4 separate regions of the Homo sapiens genome follow, and all the other regions are linked to region 4. Evidence: promoter capture Hi-C in human tissues and cell types (Jung and others, 2019). All regions are on one chromosome and are shown on one strand. Each heading gives the region's core, a stretch centred on a gene start or on the middle of the fragment in contact. The rest is flanking DNA. Distances are from core to core; before and after follow the strand shown. Region 1 has its middle 75 kb from the start of NUP50-DT. Region 2 overlaps TRMU (tRNA mitochondrial 2-thiouridylase). Region 3 overlaps GTSE1 (G2 and S-phase expressed 1). Region 4 holds the start of ATXN10 (ataxin 10).

What was found. Contacts are between HindIII fragments. The study calls those that stand out against the background at their distance.
Region 1: a contact is called between a fragment that was not itself captured here and the fragment with the promoter of ATXN10 in region 4, in 1 of the 25 tissues and cell types used here (bladder).
Region 2: a contact is called between a fragment that was not itself captured here and the fragment with the promoter of ATXN10 in region 4, in 2 of the 25 tissues and cell types used here (dorsolateral prefrontal cortex and pancreas).
Region 3: a contact is called between a fragment that was not itself captured here and the fragment with the promoter of ATXN10 in region 4, in 1 of the 25 tissues and cell types used here (dorsolateral prefrontal cortex).

What each region holds. Positions count from the first base shown.
Region 1 is chr22:45,086,650-45,091,082 of GRCh38, reverse strand. No RefSeq gene overlaps it. Among named protein-coding and RNA genes, the nearest start is that of NUP50-DT, 75 kb to the left of the region's middle. The HindIII fragment of the contact is 4,535 bases long and covers 103-4,433 here.
Region 2 is chr22:46,336,477-46,340,869 of GRCh38, reverse strand. TRMU (tRNA mitochondrial 2-thiouridylase) reads right to left here. Exons shown (of 11, transcript NM_018006.5): 2 at 2,926-3,091. Among named protein-coding and RNA genes, the nearest start is that of TRMU, 3.0 kb to the right of the region's middle. The HindIII fragment of the contact is 3,759 bases long and covers 1-3,332 here.
Region 3 is chr22:46,313,045-46,317,361 of GRCh38, reverse strand. GTSE1 (G2 and S-phase expressed 1) reads right to left here. Exons shown (of 12, transcript NM_016426.7): 6 at 3,349-3,472; 7 at 950-1,330. Among named protein-coding and RNA genes, the nearest start is that of GTSE1, 18 kb to the right of the region's middle. The HindIII fragment of the contact is 7,099 bases long and covers 1-4,317 here.
Region 4 is chr22:45,670,045-45,674,520 of GRCh38, reverse strand. It overlaps ATXN10 (ataxin 10), which reads right to left and starts at 2,687. Exons shown (of 12, transcript NM_013236.4): 1 at 2,342-2,687. The coding sequence starts at 2,457. RefSeq lists silencers at 2,055-2,384, 2,715-2,764, 2,825-3,014. The HindIII fragment of the contact is 16,564 bases long and covers 1-4,476 here.

The DNA.
Region 1 (4,433 bases), core at 1,121-3,620, 580 kb after region 4:
ATGCAGAGGAAAAAAAAATCAATGTATAGATTGTTACTGGAAGCATGAGTTTCACACATTTCTTCTATAGAGGGGTGTGTGTGTGTGTGTGTGTGTGTGTGTGGTTGGTCACGAGAACCAAAGAAATCACTATCTCAGTAGACAGAAGCAATAGGAAAATCACTTACCGGAGGGCTCCTTACATTTTTTTTTTTCATTTCTTTTGCTTTTACTGTGAATGGTAAGCTTTTGTTAACTTAGTAGACTGATTGCCTTGTTTGCAAGGGCAAGACTATGAAAACGCCAACAGGCCAAGTCCGTAGCTGCAGGCACAGAACTTCACAGGCTCTGGAAATGCAAACACTCGTCGGAGTCATCGGCAGCCGTGGCTTCTCAGGAATCTGGGAGAGGAGAATGCAAACCGATTATTCGAGTTGACGGGAGAAATACAAACACAATTCCAACTCTCAGACTTTTTAATTAGTTCTCTCTGCTTGCTAGGGTTGGCCTTTAGCCTTAATTGTGGAGGGAATGGTGTTTGTCTCCTGTAAATAAACTTCAGTCAAAAAGCAGATAAGGGCTGGGTGCGGTGTCTCACTCCTGTAATCCCAGCAGTTTGGGAGGCCGAGGAGGGTGGATCACTTGAGGTTGGGAGTTCGAGACCAGCCTGGCTGGCCAACATGGTGAAACCCCATCTCTACTAAAAATACAAAAGATTAGCCAGGCATGGTGGCACATGACTGTAGTCCCAGCTACTTGGGAGGCTGAGGCAGGAGAATAGTTTGAACCCGAGAGGCGGAGGTTGCAGTGAGCCAAGATCATGCCATTGCACTCCAGCCTGTGTGACAGAGTGAGACTCCATCTCAAAAAAAAAAAAAAAAAAAAAAAAAGAACGATTTGTACAGCTGCAAGCAACTCTAGACCAGCACTGTCCAGAGAAGTGAGCCACATTGGCCATTTAAAATTCTCCAGAAGCCCCATTAAAGAGAGAAAAAATCAAATGAAGTTAATTTAATTTTATTTTAATTTTGAGACAGTCTTGCTCTGTCACCGAGGATGGAATGCAGTGGCTCATTCATAGCTCACTGCAGCCTCGGCCTCCTGGGCTCAAGTAATCCTCCCACCTCAGCCTCCCAAGTAGCTGTGACTATAGGTGCACGCCAGCACACCCAGCTAATGTTTGTATTTTTTGTAGAGATGGGGTTTGCTGTGTGGCCCAGGCTGGTCTCGGAGTCCTGGGCTCAAGTGATCCTCCTGCCTTGGCCTCCCAAATTGCTGGGATTATAGGAGTAAGCCGTTGTGCCTAGCCAAAGTGAAATTAACTTTAATCTTCATCTTAGTTCAATATATCTGAAATATTATCCATTCAACATGCAATCCACATACAAATTTGTATTATTGTTGTTATTTTTTAGACACAAGGTCTTGCTCTGTCACCCAGGCTGGAGTGCAGTGACATGATTATGGCTTACTGCAGCCTCAACCTCCTGGGCTCAAGAGATCCTCCTGCCTCAGCCTCTTGAGTAGCTGGGACCACAGATGTGCACCACCATGCCCAGCTAATTTTTAAATTTTTTATAGGGACGGGCTCTTGCTATGTTGTCCAGGCTGGTCTTGAAATCGGCCTCCAGCAATCCTCCTGCCTCTGTCTCCTAAAGCTCTAGGATTAGAGTCGTGAGTCACTGCACCTAGTCCACACAGAAATTATTAATGAGATATTTTACATCTTTTCCCATACATGCTGAGTCCTGCAATATGACAGTGACAGAAGGTGACAAAGATATTTAGAAACAAACTTACTAGGTGGAAAGAGGGAGTATAGAAATGAATGGCCTTTGGATAAAACCTTCCTCCCTTTGTGACTGGGCCACTCACCAACCCCTTAAAGTCTGTCCCCAGCTCAAGCTCAGGTGCAGCTGTCCCTGTGGAATGAGCCTCATGGGTGCTTTGAGGGCTAGACAGGGTGAGCTGGCTGTGCTGCAGGTCTTGCTCAGACCCTGGTGAACTGTCCCTGAATCCCTGTCTTGTTCATTCATCCAATATTTATTGATCACTGCCAATGCAAAACATGGCATACACAACATTCCATTGATCGACAACCTTCTGCCCCTGGTCTCCTCTCCTTATGACACGTTTGGAGCCTCTCAGCCTTGTCTCATTCCCTCTCATGCTAGGAGAACTCCAGTACTTGGCTTTGAACCTGACTGCTAGAGACAGAAACCTCAGCCAGCTATGGAGAAAGGGGGCCCTCCTCTCCTGCAGCTGCAGCAAAGCAGGTGTTATTCTGCATCATAAACCATCCTGGCCAATGTTTCCAAGAAAGAGATCTTCAGAGGTTGTTGCTATGCCCTGGGAAAGCTGCCTTCAATCTCCAAAACATCTGTAATCCTCATCAGGTTTCTTACTCAAGAAGTTGTGGCCCTGGGTAACGCTATATGTGTCAAAACCTGTTTTCTAAATTGTATATTTGGCTGGCTTCTCAGACCTCTCTTCCACCCCATCTACTAGAGTGACCTTTCTCAATTCCAAATCCGCTTAAGGCAAAGAGCTTCATCAGTGCATCCTTCTTCTCCCTGTTCACTTAAAAATAAATCACTATATACACATTTAGAAAAAGAGAGAAGACTGGCCGGGCGTGGTGGCCCACGCCTGTAATCCTAGCACTTTGGGAGGCCTAGGTGGGTGGATCACAAGGTCAGGAGATCGAGACCATCCTGGCTAACACGGTGAAACCCTGTATCTACTAAAAATACAAAAAGTTAGCCAGGCGTGGTGGCACATGCCTGTAGTCCCAGCTACTTGGGAGGCTGAGGCAGGAGAGTGGCTTGAACCCGGGAGGTAGAAGTTGCAGTGAACTGAGATTGCACCACTGCACTCCAGCCTGGGTGACAGAGACAGACTCCTCCTCAATTAAAAAAAAAAAAGAAAAAGAGAAGAGACTTTATTTCTTCTAAAGGGTTCCACCCTGCAAGGTGGCCATGGAGCAAGGTGGGAAGTATACCTCCGGCCAAGACCAGAGACAGGCTCTTTGAAGGAGGAGGGGTTGGGCCTGACCAGGCTGGCTAATCATACATATTCAACAGGTTACAGGAGGAGCTATGAATATTCATGAAGGTGTCCTGACTCATGCGTACTGAATAATCATGCACGTCACAGGTGACCCATGTTCACTTTGGGATGGAGACTCCACATTTAAATGTATTACAATCAGGCCCAAAAGATCCTTTCAGGACAGGAAGGCCTGAAAGTGCACTCTGTAAACCCGCCGGTGCCAGTCCATGGTGGGTGGCCTTCTTATCAGGAGAAAGTTACAGAAACCAGTGTCTTGTCCAGTCAAAGCTGGAATTAGGGCTGGTGGAACAGGAGGTCATTAGTTAGCATCTGGGAGCTAGATGAGTTGCAAGTGTTTGAATCTTGCTCATCTTGAGGCCAGGGCTTATTTAGCTGCTGGAGAACAAGGAAAAACCTTGTGGCAGGTAGAACCTCATTTTTTTGTTTGTTTGTTTGTTTTGTTTTTTGTTTTTTAATTTTTTTTTTTTTCGAGATGGAGCCTCACTCTGTCGCCTAGGCTGGAGTGCAATGGCATGGTCTCAGCTCACTGCAACGTCCACCTCCCGGGTTCAAGCAATTCTCCTGTCTCAGCCTCCCAAGTAGCTAGGACTACAGGCATGTGCCACCACACCCAGCTAGTTTTTATATTTTTAGTAGAGACAGGGTTTCACTATGTTGGCCAGGCTGGTCTTGAACTCTTGACCTCATGATCCATCCACTTCGGCCTCCCAAAGGGCTGGGATTACAGGCGTGAGCCACTGCACCTGGCTCCTCGTCTGTTTTTTAAGTGTAGGGGCGCAGCATTCAACCCTTGTGACCATAGGTCCTGTTTACAATTTGGTATCTTTTTGTCACAAAGAGTCTGTTCTGTCTCTCTTATGATGTCTATTCTAGCATTAATGCTGGCCAGTTGTTGTTTGTGCTGTTTGTTTGACTGGGACATACTATTTTATTTTATTTTTATTTTTTTGAGACAGAGTCTTGCTCTGTCACCAACCTGGAGTGCAGTGGCATGATCTCAGCTCACTGCAACCCCCGCCTCCCAGGTTCAAGCGATTCTCCTGCCTCAGCCTCCCGAGTAGCTGGGACTATAGGTATGTGCCACCACGCCCAGCTAATTTTTGAATTTTTAGTAGAGACGGGGTTTCACCATGTTGGACAGGCTGGTCTCAAACTCCTGACCTCATGATCCACCCACGTCAGCCTCCCAGAGTGCTGGGATTGCAAGCGTGAGCCACGTGCCCAGCCTGACTGAGACATATTAATTGGTACTTAAAAGCACTTACTATGTGCTTTAAACCATAAAAAGGAGAAAATCTGATGAGCCGTGTCTGACCTGTCCTGTCATGGCCAGGAACTCATAAGATTTCTCTGGAGTCCCCTTGGCCACAGGAGGTCCACTC
Region 2 (4,393 bases), core at 204-2,703, 670 kb before region 4:
ATGGGAAAAGACTCTACCCGGCCGCCTCCTTCTCTCAGTCCCTATCAAGCAGCGCCAGAAGGCGGCAGCAAGCACTGGCCTGGAAAGCTGGGTTTTAATCCCAGCTCCGCTCCTAATTCTGGGGTTTAATCCCAGCTCCGCTCCTAATTCTGGGGTTTAATCCCAGCTCCGCTCCTAATTCTGGGGTTTAATCCCAGCTCCGCTCCTAATTCTGGGGTTTAATCCCAGCTCCGCTCCTAATTCTGGGGTTTAATCCCAGCTCCGCTCCTAATTCTGGGGTTTAATCCCAGCTCCGCTCCTAATTCTGGGTTTTAATCCCAGCTCCGCTCCTAATTCTGGGGTTTAATCCCAGCTCCGCTCCTAATTTGCCATACTATTCAAGTCACTCTTCCTATCTGGCCTCAGCTGAGCTAAACTTCAAAAATCGCATCCACTCGTACGTTCTGAAAAAGCTGTGCTGGCAGGTGAAGTGTAAGCTCACTTGGATTCCCTGTTGTCCCCTCAAACTCTACAGTACTCATGAGGAATCCCCTAAACCAGCTTTCCCCAGCCACCCAGCCTTGATCTTGAAACTACTGCTGACTCCTCTCCTCTCTGGTCTCCCACACACATCAGTCCCTAAGCCGCATCACACCTTTTCTCAAAGAAAGACCCTGACAACCCCCCACACCACCAGCACAGCTGAAGTGCTTATTAAAGCAGATTCCAGGGCCGCCCCCAGACCTCGGTCCAGGTCTGTGTTTAACAAGCACCTCAGATCTACTGCCCGGTGGACTTGTCCTCTGGGTCCAACAAGCCAGCCCTCACCTTCCACTCCCACACTCCCTCCCCATGAAGTCCAAATCTCCAGCAACAGCACTTCCTGAGACTCTCTGCCTTTGGTCTTCCCCCAGATTTATCCTGTATTTGGCCGCCACACTCTTTTTTTTTTCTTATGTCCCCGAGAAAACTGCAGAAGTTTTTAATGCATTTATCATGCATTCTACAGATAAGTTTTTAATGCATTTATCATGCATTCTACAGGTAACTTTCCCCAGGAAAATTCAGCCATCAGTTTTGTCCATGTTGTTAATATATACGACACCCATATGTTATAGCATAGAGTCACAGAGGGTTCATATTCAAGCTCTTCCGTTGATTATTTAGGTGACCATAGTCAATTTACTTAATCTCTCTAAATTTCGTTTTATTGTTATTTCAATGGTTTTTTGGGCAACAGCTGGTATTTGGTCACATGGATAAGTTCTTCAGTGGTGACTTCTGAGATTTTGGTGTACCCGTCACCCAAGCAGTGGACATTGTACCCGATGTGTAGTCTTTTATCCCTCACCCCAGAGTCCATTATATCATTTTTATGCCTTTGCGTCCTCATAGCTTAGCTCCCCAGACTCATCTTTTTAATAATGAAAATAAAAATAGCAGGCTGGCGTGGTGGCTCACGCCTGTAATCCCAGCACTTTGGGAGGCTGAGACGAGTGGATCTTCTGAGGTCAGGAGTCTGAGACTAGCCCGGCCAACATGGCGAAACCCTGTCTCTACTAAAAATACAAAAATTATCCGGGCGTGGTGGTGCATGCCTATAATCCCAGCTACTTGGGAGGCTGAGGCATGAGAATCGCTTGAACCTGGGAGGCAGATGTTGCAGTGAGCCAAGATTGCGCCACTGCACTCCAGCCTGGGCAACAGAGCGAGGCTCTGTCTCAAAAAAAAATAGAAAAGAAAAACAGCTATGTTTATTGACTGCTTACTAATATACCAGGCATACATACTAGAACCTAATCTCAATTCTTTCATAACCCTGTGAGGCATCAGTGTTATCCTCATTTTAAAGATGAGAAAATTGGGGCTTAGAAAAGTCAAGTATCTCTTCTGGGTCTTTGTTGGCAGGAAAAAAAGAGAATTTTTTTCAATTAAAAAAACAAAGTCAAGTAAATTGCCCAAGGTCATATAATAAGCTACAGTCAGGACTCAACCCAAGGCTCTTCTGCCCCTAAAGCCCACTCAGGCAGGGGCAGCCTGTCCCGCGCACATGGCCTGCTGTGTCAGACGCCTTCGACAACTGCCCGACATTCATCACAGTCAGGGCTCACCAGAGGATGAGCCCTACACTCCTTCCACTGCAGGAACAAAAGTCCAGCCAAACTTTACAACGGTCCTGAAATACACAATCAGCATTTCTTCTCCCCTTCACGCTGCTCTCGTTACCCCATTTGGAGTCCCTTCTCTACAACTTTGTTTGCAACCCCTCCTCTCCGGTGAAGCCTTCTTGATTACTCCACACTGCAAGTTTCTCCCTCCTCTGGGTTCAGTGACTGATAGCATCACTGGTACTTCCTGCGTGCCACGCATCACTGTCACCTCTTGTGAAGATAATGTCCTCCCAACTAGACCGCAAACTCCTACAGAGCCAGGTCACAGTGAAGACATCTTAATGTTCCTAGATGTGGCACACGCCTAGCACACAGCACTTAATTATTGAGATTATATTGGATTTTAGAAAAGTTTTTGTTTGTTTCTTGTTTTCAGAGGCACAGGCCATGTATCACCTCTTTCTCAGAAATCCCCTAATCGCTGACCCACATAGCACACAGGCATTGGTGCTCACCTTCCAGGGGAGCCCTCAGCCTTAGCTCCCCTATCCTAACTGGGCAACAGAAACAGCTCAAGGTCCAAGAAAGCATTAAAGAGACTTCAGGCAAGTGGCAAAATGACAGGAGTGAGAGAGCTGGGTGTGCTGTGGGGTCCAGGCCTCGCCTCTAACACAGAGCCCCGAGGGTGGCTGAGGCCTCTTGCAGTCTTCAGCACCACCGTGGAGGGAGAGCGCTGGGCTGCAGCACAGGCGTCGGTCTGGCTGGTTACCGGATCCTTCCACTGCAAGGATCCACAGTGTGAGGAAGCTTCCTTTGTGCTGTGACCCGCACTCACCTGAACACATCATTCCAATACTCCTTTACGTAGGACACTTGATGGAAAGGGATGTCTAAGATCTGGCAAACTCTGTAAGCATCTTCACAGTCTTTGTCGGCAGTACAGACCCCATGTTCATCCAGTGAGTCCCAGTTCTTCATAAACACCCCTGTCACCTGGTAACCTGCGGGCGGGAAGGTCAATTAAAGAGAATACATAAATCAACCTTCGGTAAAACGGCAGTGATTTCTGAGCTCTGAGAAGTTCCCCACACGCTGTGCTCCTGTGCCTCTGTGCCTGGCCTGCCGGGCAGTCCCTGCTTTGCCATGTGGCTTCAGGGATCCGGTTTCCATCTTGGTGCCTGAGTCCCCAAGATTAACGAGGTGGTATTTTCTCATCTTTGTGTCCCCATCTATGTATCAGCACAATACCTAGCAGGAGGGGATCAGCCAGTGTGTGTGGAATACACGAAGGAATAGTCGAAACTCAACAAAATTTTTCAAAGCACCATTCAGTTATCAAAAAAGGAAACTCTTTTCAAAAGTTATTTCTAGTTACTATCTAAGACTTAGATTCTAAGTGATCAGATATAAAGATAATTAAAATTTTCGATATTTTGTAAGAGCTGTACCACCTAGTTTATGACCTATTTTCTACCTTTTCGATTGTAACAAAATATTCACCCAAATATTGGAAAGGCCAACTTTAGCCCTACACCACCTTAGCAAACTACACAGGTGCAGACCCTGTATGAGAAAGCTGGTTCGTTTAGGTAGGCTGAATGTAATGAAAGACAGGGCAAATGACTGCTGAAGAAGGCTTCATATAGTACCCAAAACAACAGAAATTTGATGACAAAGCTTTGTCAAAACTACACCACCACACGCGAAAGACCACCCCTATCCCAGATCAACCAGACTAATGTCTACCTAACAGTCTAAAGCCCCTGGTATAGCATCTTCCATAATCAGGGCTAAACGTGCTCCAGGCTCCTCTCCTTCCATCTCCATCTGGCCAGAACCAGCCCACACTTGCAGGCCTCTGTGATTCTGCTTGCACTGCTGACTGTGCCGGGAGGGCCGCCTCCACCTCCAAGTCTCTGCTTAGTGACATCCTACTCTTCTTTCGACTCAGCTGAGCACCTCCATCTCTAGGATGCTTTCCTCCACTCTCCCTTCCTCACAACTATTTCTGCTTATGGTCCGCCTACCCTTCTCTTTGGCACTTACTGTACCTACCATAATAGCTATGGTTATTAACAATATAAACTAATAGCCACTACTGTTTTCTGCGTACCTCGTATGTGCTGAGCACGTACTCATCAGTATGTACTATGTCATCTAATCCCTCCAGTCACCCCGTGAGGCAGGTGTTAGCCGAATTTTACAGGGGACGGCTTAATTCACTTGCCCAAGGTCAGGAGCCAAAGATGGCGCAAAGCAGAGCTCCACAAACGTGACTCTGTGAATGAGGCCTCCCGCGGGGA
Region 3 (4,317 bases), core at 459-2,958, 640 kb before region 4:
GTTAACTGGATGGGCTTCACAGCTGTTAGGCACTGCAGAAGAAATGATATCTGACAACAGAAACTACCCAAACTGTAGCTCAAGGAAAAAGGCTGGGCCGGGCACGGTGGCTCACACCTATAATCCCAGCAGTTTGAGAGGCCGAGATGGGTGGGTCACTTGAGGTCAGGAGTTCCAGACCAGCCTGGCCAACATGGCGAAACCCCGTCTCTACCAAAAATACAAAAAAAAAATTAGCCGGGTGTGGTGGTGGGCACCTGTAATCCCAGCTACTCGGGAGGCTGAGGCAGGAGAATTGCTTGAACTCGGTAGGTGGAGGTTACAGTGCGCTGAGATCGCGCCACTGCATTCCACCCTGGGTGACAGAGCGAGACTCCGTCTCAAAAAACAAAAAACAAAAAAAAAGAAAGAAAGAAAAGAAAAAAGATAAGAAAAAGAAAAAAGGCTGAAATAAAAAAAAGAACAGAGCTTCGGTGTCCTGTGAGACAACGTCAAGAGGCCTGAAATAGATGTGATTAGAGTCCTAGGAAATAAAGTGGAAAGAGGAAAAGATAGCTGAAGAAATAATGGCCAACGTTTTCCAAATTTGCTGAAAAAAACCAACCCACAGATCAAAGAAGCTTAAGAAACCCTCAGCGGGATAAAGGCAAAGAAAGCCACCTCAAAGCACATAATAATCAAATTCCCGACAGTAACACTAAAGAGAAAACCTTACAAGCAGCCTACGAGCATTGGGGTGTCACACACACAGGAACGAACGTAAGACATTCAGGGAGCCTCCAGTGACCCCCCAAAACAACGTGGGCGAGAAGACAGCGGGTCACACCTGAAAGCACTGTTGGAGGAAAGAACTAAAAACACCATCAATGCCATCAATAATTGTTTAAAACTTTAAATGCAATTTCTTCAGTATTTTTTAAAGACACATTAAAATGTATCTATTACTCACCAATAGAAAACTTAGGAATTTTAAATTGATTTGTAGGAGTAGGCATAACCTTTGTCTTGGAATTTAGACAGGAATCTCGCCGTCTGATACTTCTAGTCTTATTCAATTGAGAAGATTCTGACCAAGCGCAACTGGAGTTCAGCCACTGGCCGCCACCTTCCGGAGTCTGGGGTTGGGTGGGGGATGCTGAGGGGGGTGCCGTGAGCTGCTCCGCTGCCAGCTCAGAAACATCGACCCGCTTGGCCTGCCAGGAGGATGCCCCCACAGGGCCTGCAGGCAGAGCTGGCCGCAGCATGGCGGGTCCCATTCTGCCTGACTTGCTGATGTTTGACAGAGGCCGGGAGCTATTTGCAGGAATACTTGCAAATTCACTTGATTTAGCTAGAAGGTATACACACAAAAATCACATTATTATAAAAGTATGAAGCTATTTAACAAACACACAGAAGTTATGCTGTCTTTAGCATATCTACCTTAAACATAAGACACATTAACAATATTCTATAAGCCCTTCAGGCAACATCATCAAACACAGGATGGCTCAGGCAGCTTTTAGCTTAGCTGAGTGTATTCTAAGGTACTTATTCTCAAAATAATTACTAACATGTACATAAGCATGCATAAATTCAAGCTCTCCTATCTTCGTTGATTATGTTGGCAGGAGAAATCTACATTAGTTGAGCAGATGGAAGGGGATAGTCTAGTCACATGTCTCACCTGTCTGGTCACAGAGGTGGGCAGGGAACAAGGAAAAAAGACGCAATTGTTACTGGTTGATTCCTTTAAAATTACAAGGAGGCTGCGTCATATTAACCATAAGCACTATTTAAAATAGAAGACCAGATAAACTAGGGTAATACATACTGAGCTACCAATATACGCAGACGATCTGGTAAAGGATTCTTAAAGAAAAACTTTAGCCCAGGAGTGGTGGCTCACGCCTGTAATCCAAACACTTTGGGAGGCCAAGGCAAGAGATCACTCAAGGCCAGGAGTTCGAGACCAGCCTGGCTAATATAGTGAGACCATCCTCTCTACAAAAAACACAAAAATGTGGGCCAGGCGCAGTGGCTCGTGCCTGTAATCCTAGCACTTTGGGAGGCCAAGGCGGGCGGATCACGAGGTCAAGAGATCGAGACCATCCTAGCCAACATGGTGAAACCCCGTCACTACTAAAAATACAAAAATTAGCCGGGCGTGGTGGCAGGTGCCTGTAGTCCCAGCTACTTGGGAGGCTGAGGCAGGAGAATCACTCGAACCCGGGAGGCAGAGGTTGTAGTGAGCCAAGATTGCGCCACTGCACTCCAACCTGGCAATAGAGTGAGACTCCATCTCAAAAAAAAAAAACCCACAAAAATTAGCCGGGTGTGGTGGCATGTGCCTGTAGTCCCAGCTACTCAGGAGGCTGAGGTGGGAGGATTGCTTGATCTCAGGAGGTCATCACCTCAGTCTATAAAGATAAGGACACAAACCTCTCTTAATCACAGAATGGCAGAGTCAGAATTCCAGATCAGATCAATCTGATTAGAGAGTTCACACTTATCATTTTTTTTTTTTTTTTTGAGACGGAGTGCAGTGATGCAATCTCGGCTCATGGTAACCTCTGCCTCCCGCGTTCAAGCCATTCTCGTGGCCCAGTCTCCCGAGTAGCTGGGACTACAGGCACCCGCCACCATGCCCGGCTAGTTTTTGTGTTTTTAGTAGAGACAGGGTTTCACCATGTTGGCCAGGCTGGTCTCAAACTCCAGGGGTCAAGCGATCCACCCATCTTGGCCTGCCAAAGTGCTGGGATCACAGGCGTGAGCCCCTGCGCCCGGCCCACTTTTTACATTTTGTGAACACAATCCACACCATGCTGCCCTGAACGACCCCGAGACGCCACATGGCCAATGCACCTCGAAGAGGATTTCGCTCTGAAGAGCAGAAAGGCGAAGGCTTTCCCTTACCACTAGATGGCAGCTGTGGCTTGGCAAGGTTGAAATGTGGCTTGACCTCAAACAGGTGTGGGAGCATGGATTTAAACAGGCACCCAGGAGTTATGGGGCCATATGCCCTACATTATCTGGAATAGTCCTATTTTAAAACTGGTGTCTCATGACATGGACATGAGGGTGATTCCAGTGTCCATGTTCTCAGGCACGGGGTATCATACATGCTTTCTGGCCATGTGTACCCCGTAGACTGAAGCCACCCATCTGAGTGTGCCCTCCTCATGGGACAGAGGCACTGAGGGCAGGTACAGCAACTCAGTCCACAGCCTGGTCCACCGCACACAGCACGCCCTCCGGGACGTCCTGCCAAGCCTAAGTGGTTCTGCAGAAACAGTCTCCAAGGCCTGAGCAGCACTCCAGGCCTCACCTGGCCAGATGTGGGTCCAAGCATGATGCCGGCTGCCTCACCTTTGCCCACTGCTGGGGATGTGCACGCACTGGATGCCCCGCTCCAAACAGGCCCCGAGGAGGACTTCCTTGCGAGATTGCTGGTAGAGCCGGGTGCTTTTAACAGGGTCTTCTTCAGCCCCAACTGGGGCAAAATGTGAAAAAACAGAATCAGCAAAGATCTCGTTATTTACCTATTACTTGTGTCTGCAAAAGTAAGGGGTTTTTGGCTGGGCACGGTGGCTCACGCCTGTAATCCCAGCACTTTGGGAGGCTGAGGCCGGAGGATCACAAGGTCAGGAGTTTGAGACCAGCCTGGCCAATATGGTGAAACCTTGTCTCTACTAAAAATATAAAAACTAGCTGGGCATGGTGGCAGGCACCTGTAGTCCCAGCTACTCGGGAGGCTGAGGTAGGAGAATTGCTTGAACCCGGGAGGTGGAGGTTGTAGTGAGCTGAGCTCGTGCCATTGCACTCCAGCCTGGGCGACAGAGTGAGACTCCGTCTCAACAACAACAACAACAACAAAAGTTGGTGTTTTTACTATTTTAAAATAATCTAATAATTATCATCTTGAATTTAAAGAAGAAAAAAGTCAAGCAGCACTTCTCAAAGTGTAGTCTTCAAACCCCTGCATGAGGACCACATTAGGGAGCTAGCAGAAATGCAGATTTGGGGCCCCAACCCAGACCCCATGAGTCAGCAGCTGCAGGGCCCAGCTTTGGGCAGTTCTAACAAGAACTGCCAGTACACACAGCTTGGTTTACCGCCAATGCCAGAAAATAAGTGGCAAAGATGTGGCTGGTAGTCTCCATGCCTGTGAGGAACCGCAATTTTCTTTCTTTTCCTTTTTTTTTTTTTTTTTTTTAGACAGGGTCTCACTCTGTTGCCCAGGCTGGAATGGAATGCAGTGGCATGATCACAGCTCACTGCAGCCTTGACCTCCTGGGCTCAAGCAATCCTCCCACCTCAACCTCCCAAATAGCTGGG
Region 4 (4,476 bases), core at 1,438-3,937:
GGAGTCTGGGCCCAGCCCCACAAGACCCTTATAATTTGTCCAAAGACAAAGAGAAGCAGTGACAGAACCAGGACCAGAAGCCTGTCCTTATAAACCCTGATCATGAGTTCTCTGCACCACCACACAACTGTGTCTTTCCATGCCAGGACCTGCACATCAGTTCACCTTTCCTGGTCTCCAATCTCTGCCTGGAACAAGGACACTGTCCCAGAACTCAGATGAAATCTGGGAAGCATCCTCATTTCCTCATTCTCCCCCCCACAATCCAACTGGTCCGAGTCCTGTCCATTCAACCTTGTATCTCTCAGTATTTATTCTACTCATCCCCACAATGTCCTAATTTAGGCACTTTTCTCTTTCACATGGGCTTCCGCTACCACTCCTTAAAGGTCCCCCCTGTCTCTAGCTTCGTCCTCTCATTTATTCCCCACAATGGAGGCGGAGGCGGCCAGGAAGATCTAACAGGCAGATCTTATCGCGCCACTCCCTTGACAAAAACCATCAATGGTTCTCTGTAACTTCTTCCCTCACAAGAGATAGAGTCAAGAAGGGCCTTCTAAACTGGCTCAGGGGCTTGGATTTTCTCCAAGTTATAAAAAGGGAACTGATGTCTGACTAAATGTCTCTTCTGTACGAGAAACCTTATCTATGTTACTTAATTGTCTCATCGGTTTTGCAAAATTAACATATGGCCCCTTTGCAGACACTGTTCCCTCTAGTCCTCTCATCTATAACCGAGCACCTGAAATAACCTTAAAAAGCCTCTCCTGGCTCGCCAATCTTCCAACATATCCACATGCTCCCCTGTGCCACCACCTCTTGTATAGATTTCCATTACAATGTGTTTATTTAGCTATTTCCCAAATATGCCTGATAAAAGGGATCACTCACATCATTCCTCTCTGTACCCTCAGACCCCAACAAAAAAATCTGTTTCATAGTAGGTGCTCAATAAATGGTTGATGACTGGGTTATTAACTAAAAGGAGGGTCCATCATGATACAGAAATGCCTAAGCATTAAATCAATAAATACATCTCCCCCAAAGGCCCATAGAGCAGTACCAGGGACTTTTATTAATAGCATTCCTTCAGCAGCTCCACATTTCCCAAAGTGATGTGAGGTAAAGGAAGTGCTCAGACCAGGTGTCTAGTTTAAAGAGAGGAAGTCCTCTAGTGATCACCTAGGCTGACCCAAGTCTCAGTATTTCTTTCTTCAATGTTCCCTCTGCTTTGTACATACATACCCCCACAGCTGTGTTATCTTGTACATACTAGTACAGGAGAGAGCAAGGACTTTCCATTTTCCTACCCCATCACCTAGCACAATAGCTGATACATGGGTAACTACCAATCAATGTGTTAAGTGATAATATCAGCTACATTTAGTGCTATGTACAGGTATGTCCTAAGGATTTAATATGCATTATATCTCATTTACTCCTTATGACACTATCACCAGGGAGGTACTGTTCAACTTTACTCCCATTAAATAGACAAGAAAACTGAGGCCCAGAGGACAGAACAAGATCAAACAAGCATTGACTGAGGGCTTCGCACATTTTATATTTTCACGTACTTTATTTCATTTATTCCTCTGTACAATCCAGCAACTAAGCTGTGTATTATAGTCCCATTTTTAGACAAGAATTCTAAGGCCTGGAGAAACTGCACAGTAACACGCAGCTTGCAAGGCCAGGAACCAAATCCACAACTGTCGACTCCTGGGCACCTTCTCTTTTTGCCTGGCTATCTTGCCCCTCAGTGGCATCAGGACTGGACTGGTCTCTCCAGGCCCGTGCTCTTCCACACTGCACAGAGCGCTGCCCCCAGGGCAGATGGTGCAGCCTGGGCTCTAACGCCGAGGAGAAAGGAGTGCCAGTCCCACTCCATGCCTAGAGACTGCCATCCCCGCAACTGCCCAATTCCCGCGTCCGTAACACGGGTCTCTCCCGCTAAAACACACGCTTTATGACTCTGGGGGCCGCGTGGGTCTTGCAGCCAGGGCCTGGCGCAGCCCTCGCACATGACAGGGGAGGCCTAACCGTGTGTTGGGTCAACATCACCGGCACGCCGCGGCAAGGGCTCCCGGGATCGCGGCTTCGCACCCGGACTGGCTGCGGTGGGGGAGCGGGGCGCCCGCCCCAGGCCCCGCGGGGACCCACGAGCACGAGGCGGTGCCTGGGAGTCGGGAGGCCTGGGTGGCGCTCAGGCAGCCCGCGCAGGCCTCGCCCTCCGCGTCTCCAGCGAGGCGGGGGCGGCGCCTGGGTCCAGGCCGGGGCCGCCGCGGGAGTCCCGGCCGCCCTCCCCTGCCCGGGGCAGCCCCCCGGCCGGACCCGTTACCGGTTCCGCTGCTCTTTGAAGAGCGCCGTGAGCGCGCGCAGGGCCTCCAGGTCTTGGATGGGCGCCGGCACCATGACGCCCGACAGCCTGGCAGGCGGCGGCCTGGGCGCCGCCATCTTGCCGCTCACAGCTGGGTCGAGCCTGACGAGGAGGAGGAAGGCGAGGAGGACGAAGGGGGAGGATGACGAGGAGGGAGGAGTAGGATGGCGAGGAGGAAGGGGGAGGCCTCGCCCTACACAGCCCTAACCGCCGCCGCCGCTGCAGCCCGCGCTGCCCTGAAGCTGCGCCGCCGCCGGAGAGCTCTAGGCTGAGCCCAGACTCGCCTCAGGCGGGAGGAGGAGACGGCGCCGCGGGGGAGGGGGCGCCGGCGGAAGTCCCGCCTGAGGGGAGGGGGCGCGGCGGAAGTTCTGGGTGAGAGCGGGGAGGGATGCTGGGGGTGATTGACTGGGAAGCGTCGCAGACGGGGCTCCTCCGAGGGGAGGGGACGCCGGGGGGAGGGGGACCTGTGTTGATGTGGCCGTAACAGGGTCTCGGTCTTGGGAGCGGGTATCGGGAACCAGAGGTTCACCCTGAGAAAGAGGGGCGCGTCCTATAGGAGGGTGCCCGCGGACAGAGGGGTCTCCCCCAGGGGAGGGGATCCGGGGGGTAAGGGGCCTGTGGAGGGTGGGGCCGTAACAAGGTCTCGGTCTTGGGAGCGGGTATCGGGGACAGAGGTTCACCTTGAGGAAGAGGGGCCCTCCTGTGGGAGGGGGCCCGCAGACAGAGTGGTCTCCCCCAGGGGAGGACATTCTGGGTGGAGGGGACCCTCTTGGGAGGAGACGCTGACTGAGGGTCTCGGGAACGAAGGGGGCCGGGCAGAGGCTCCCACTGCTAAGGCTGAAGACCTTGATCCCACTGCTCAAGTGGGTTGATCAGTGCCCCCGCCCGGGTCCACTGGAAGCTGGAGCGGTCTGTCACTAGCTTGCAAGTCTCAGGCCCTGAAAACGCACTTCCCAGTACTTACTGATCATTGCTGATCAATACCAGACCACTTACCAGGCACTTTGCCTCTAGTGAGTATACATTGCTCCAGCTCCTCAAAGCCTTAAAATACCGTTCGAAGTCAAGAAGCTAAGTTACACAGCAATAGGGTTAGAATTGTTTTTTTTCCTAAGGGAAATGAATATATTTCACAGGAATCAGACAAGGCTTCTCTAGCTGGTGTTGATAACTCACATATTTTCTTTCCACTGCCCTTTATTACAGTGTATATACTTTCAACAAAAATTGTTGCTAAGCCCTGCGCTAGGTGCTGGAGATGTAAAGATTAATAAAAGACAGTTCCAAACCTGAAGGAACCTCACAGACTATTGAGAAGGAGAGAAGCAAACATAACTGAGTATAGTTGTGAACTGCTATAACTGTACAAATTGCTGTGGGACCACTTAAAATATATAAATACATACCCTTTACATTCTGCTTGGAGGGTAGGAGTGTGCTTATAACATGGCGCTTTTAACATTCTTTGCTAAATAAAATGTAAAGATAACAATAAACACCACCAGAGTATGCAGAAAAAGTGAATCCTGGTGGGGCATGGTGGCTCATGCCTGTAATCCCAGCACTTTGGGTGGCCAAGGCAGGAGGATTACTTGAGCCCAGGAGGTCGAGGCTGCAGTGAGCTGTGATCACACCACTGCACTCCAGCCTGGGTGGCAGAATGATACCCTGTATCAAAAAAAAAAAAAAAAAAAAAAAAAAAGGAGGGAGGGAAATGAATGCTGCTGCACAAGCAAGTTACTTGATATTGTCATTCAGTTTACCCATTTAATTGAGTATGTATTTATTCATTCCACGAATATTGCGGTGTACTATGTGCCAGGTATTAGATCACTTATTAGTAGCAGTGCTCAAGACAATGCAAAATGTTTAACACTCCTTAAGCTAACAGGGCAAAAATCTCTTAATTTTCCCTTGAGGAGCACAGGATAGTAAAATGTACTTGTTATGCACCAAAATCCTGATCTTTAGGCCAGACACGGTGGCTCATGCCTGTAATCCCAGCACTTTGGGAGGCCGAGGCGGGCAGATCACTTGAGGTCAGGAGTTCAAGATCAGTCTGGCCAACATGGCAAAACCCCCTTTCTACTAAAAAT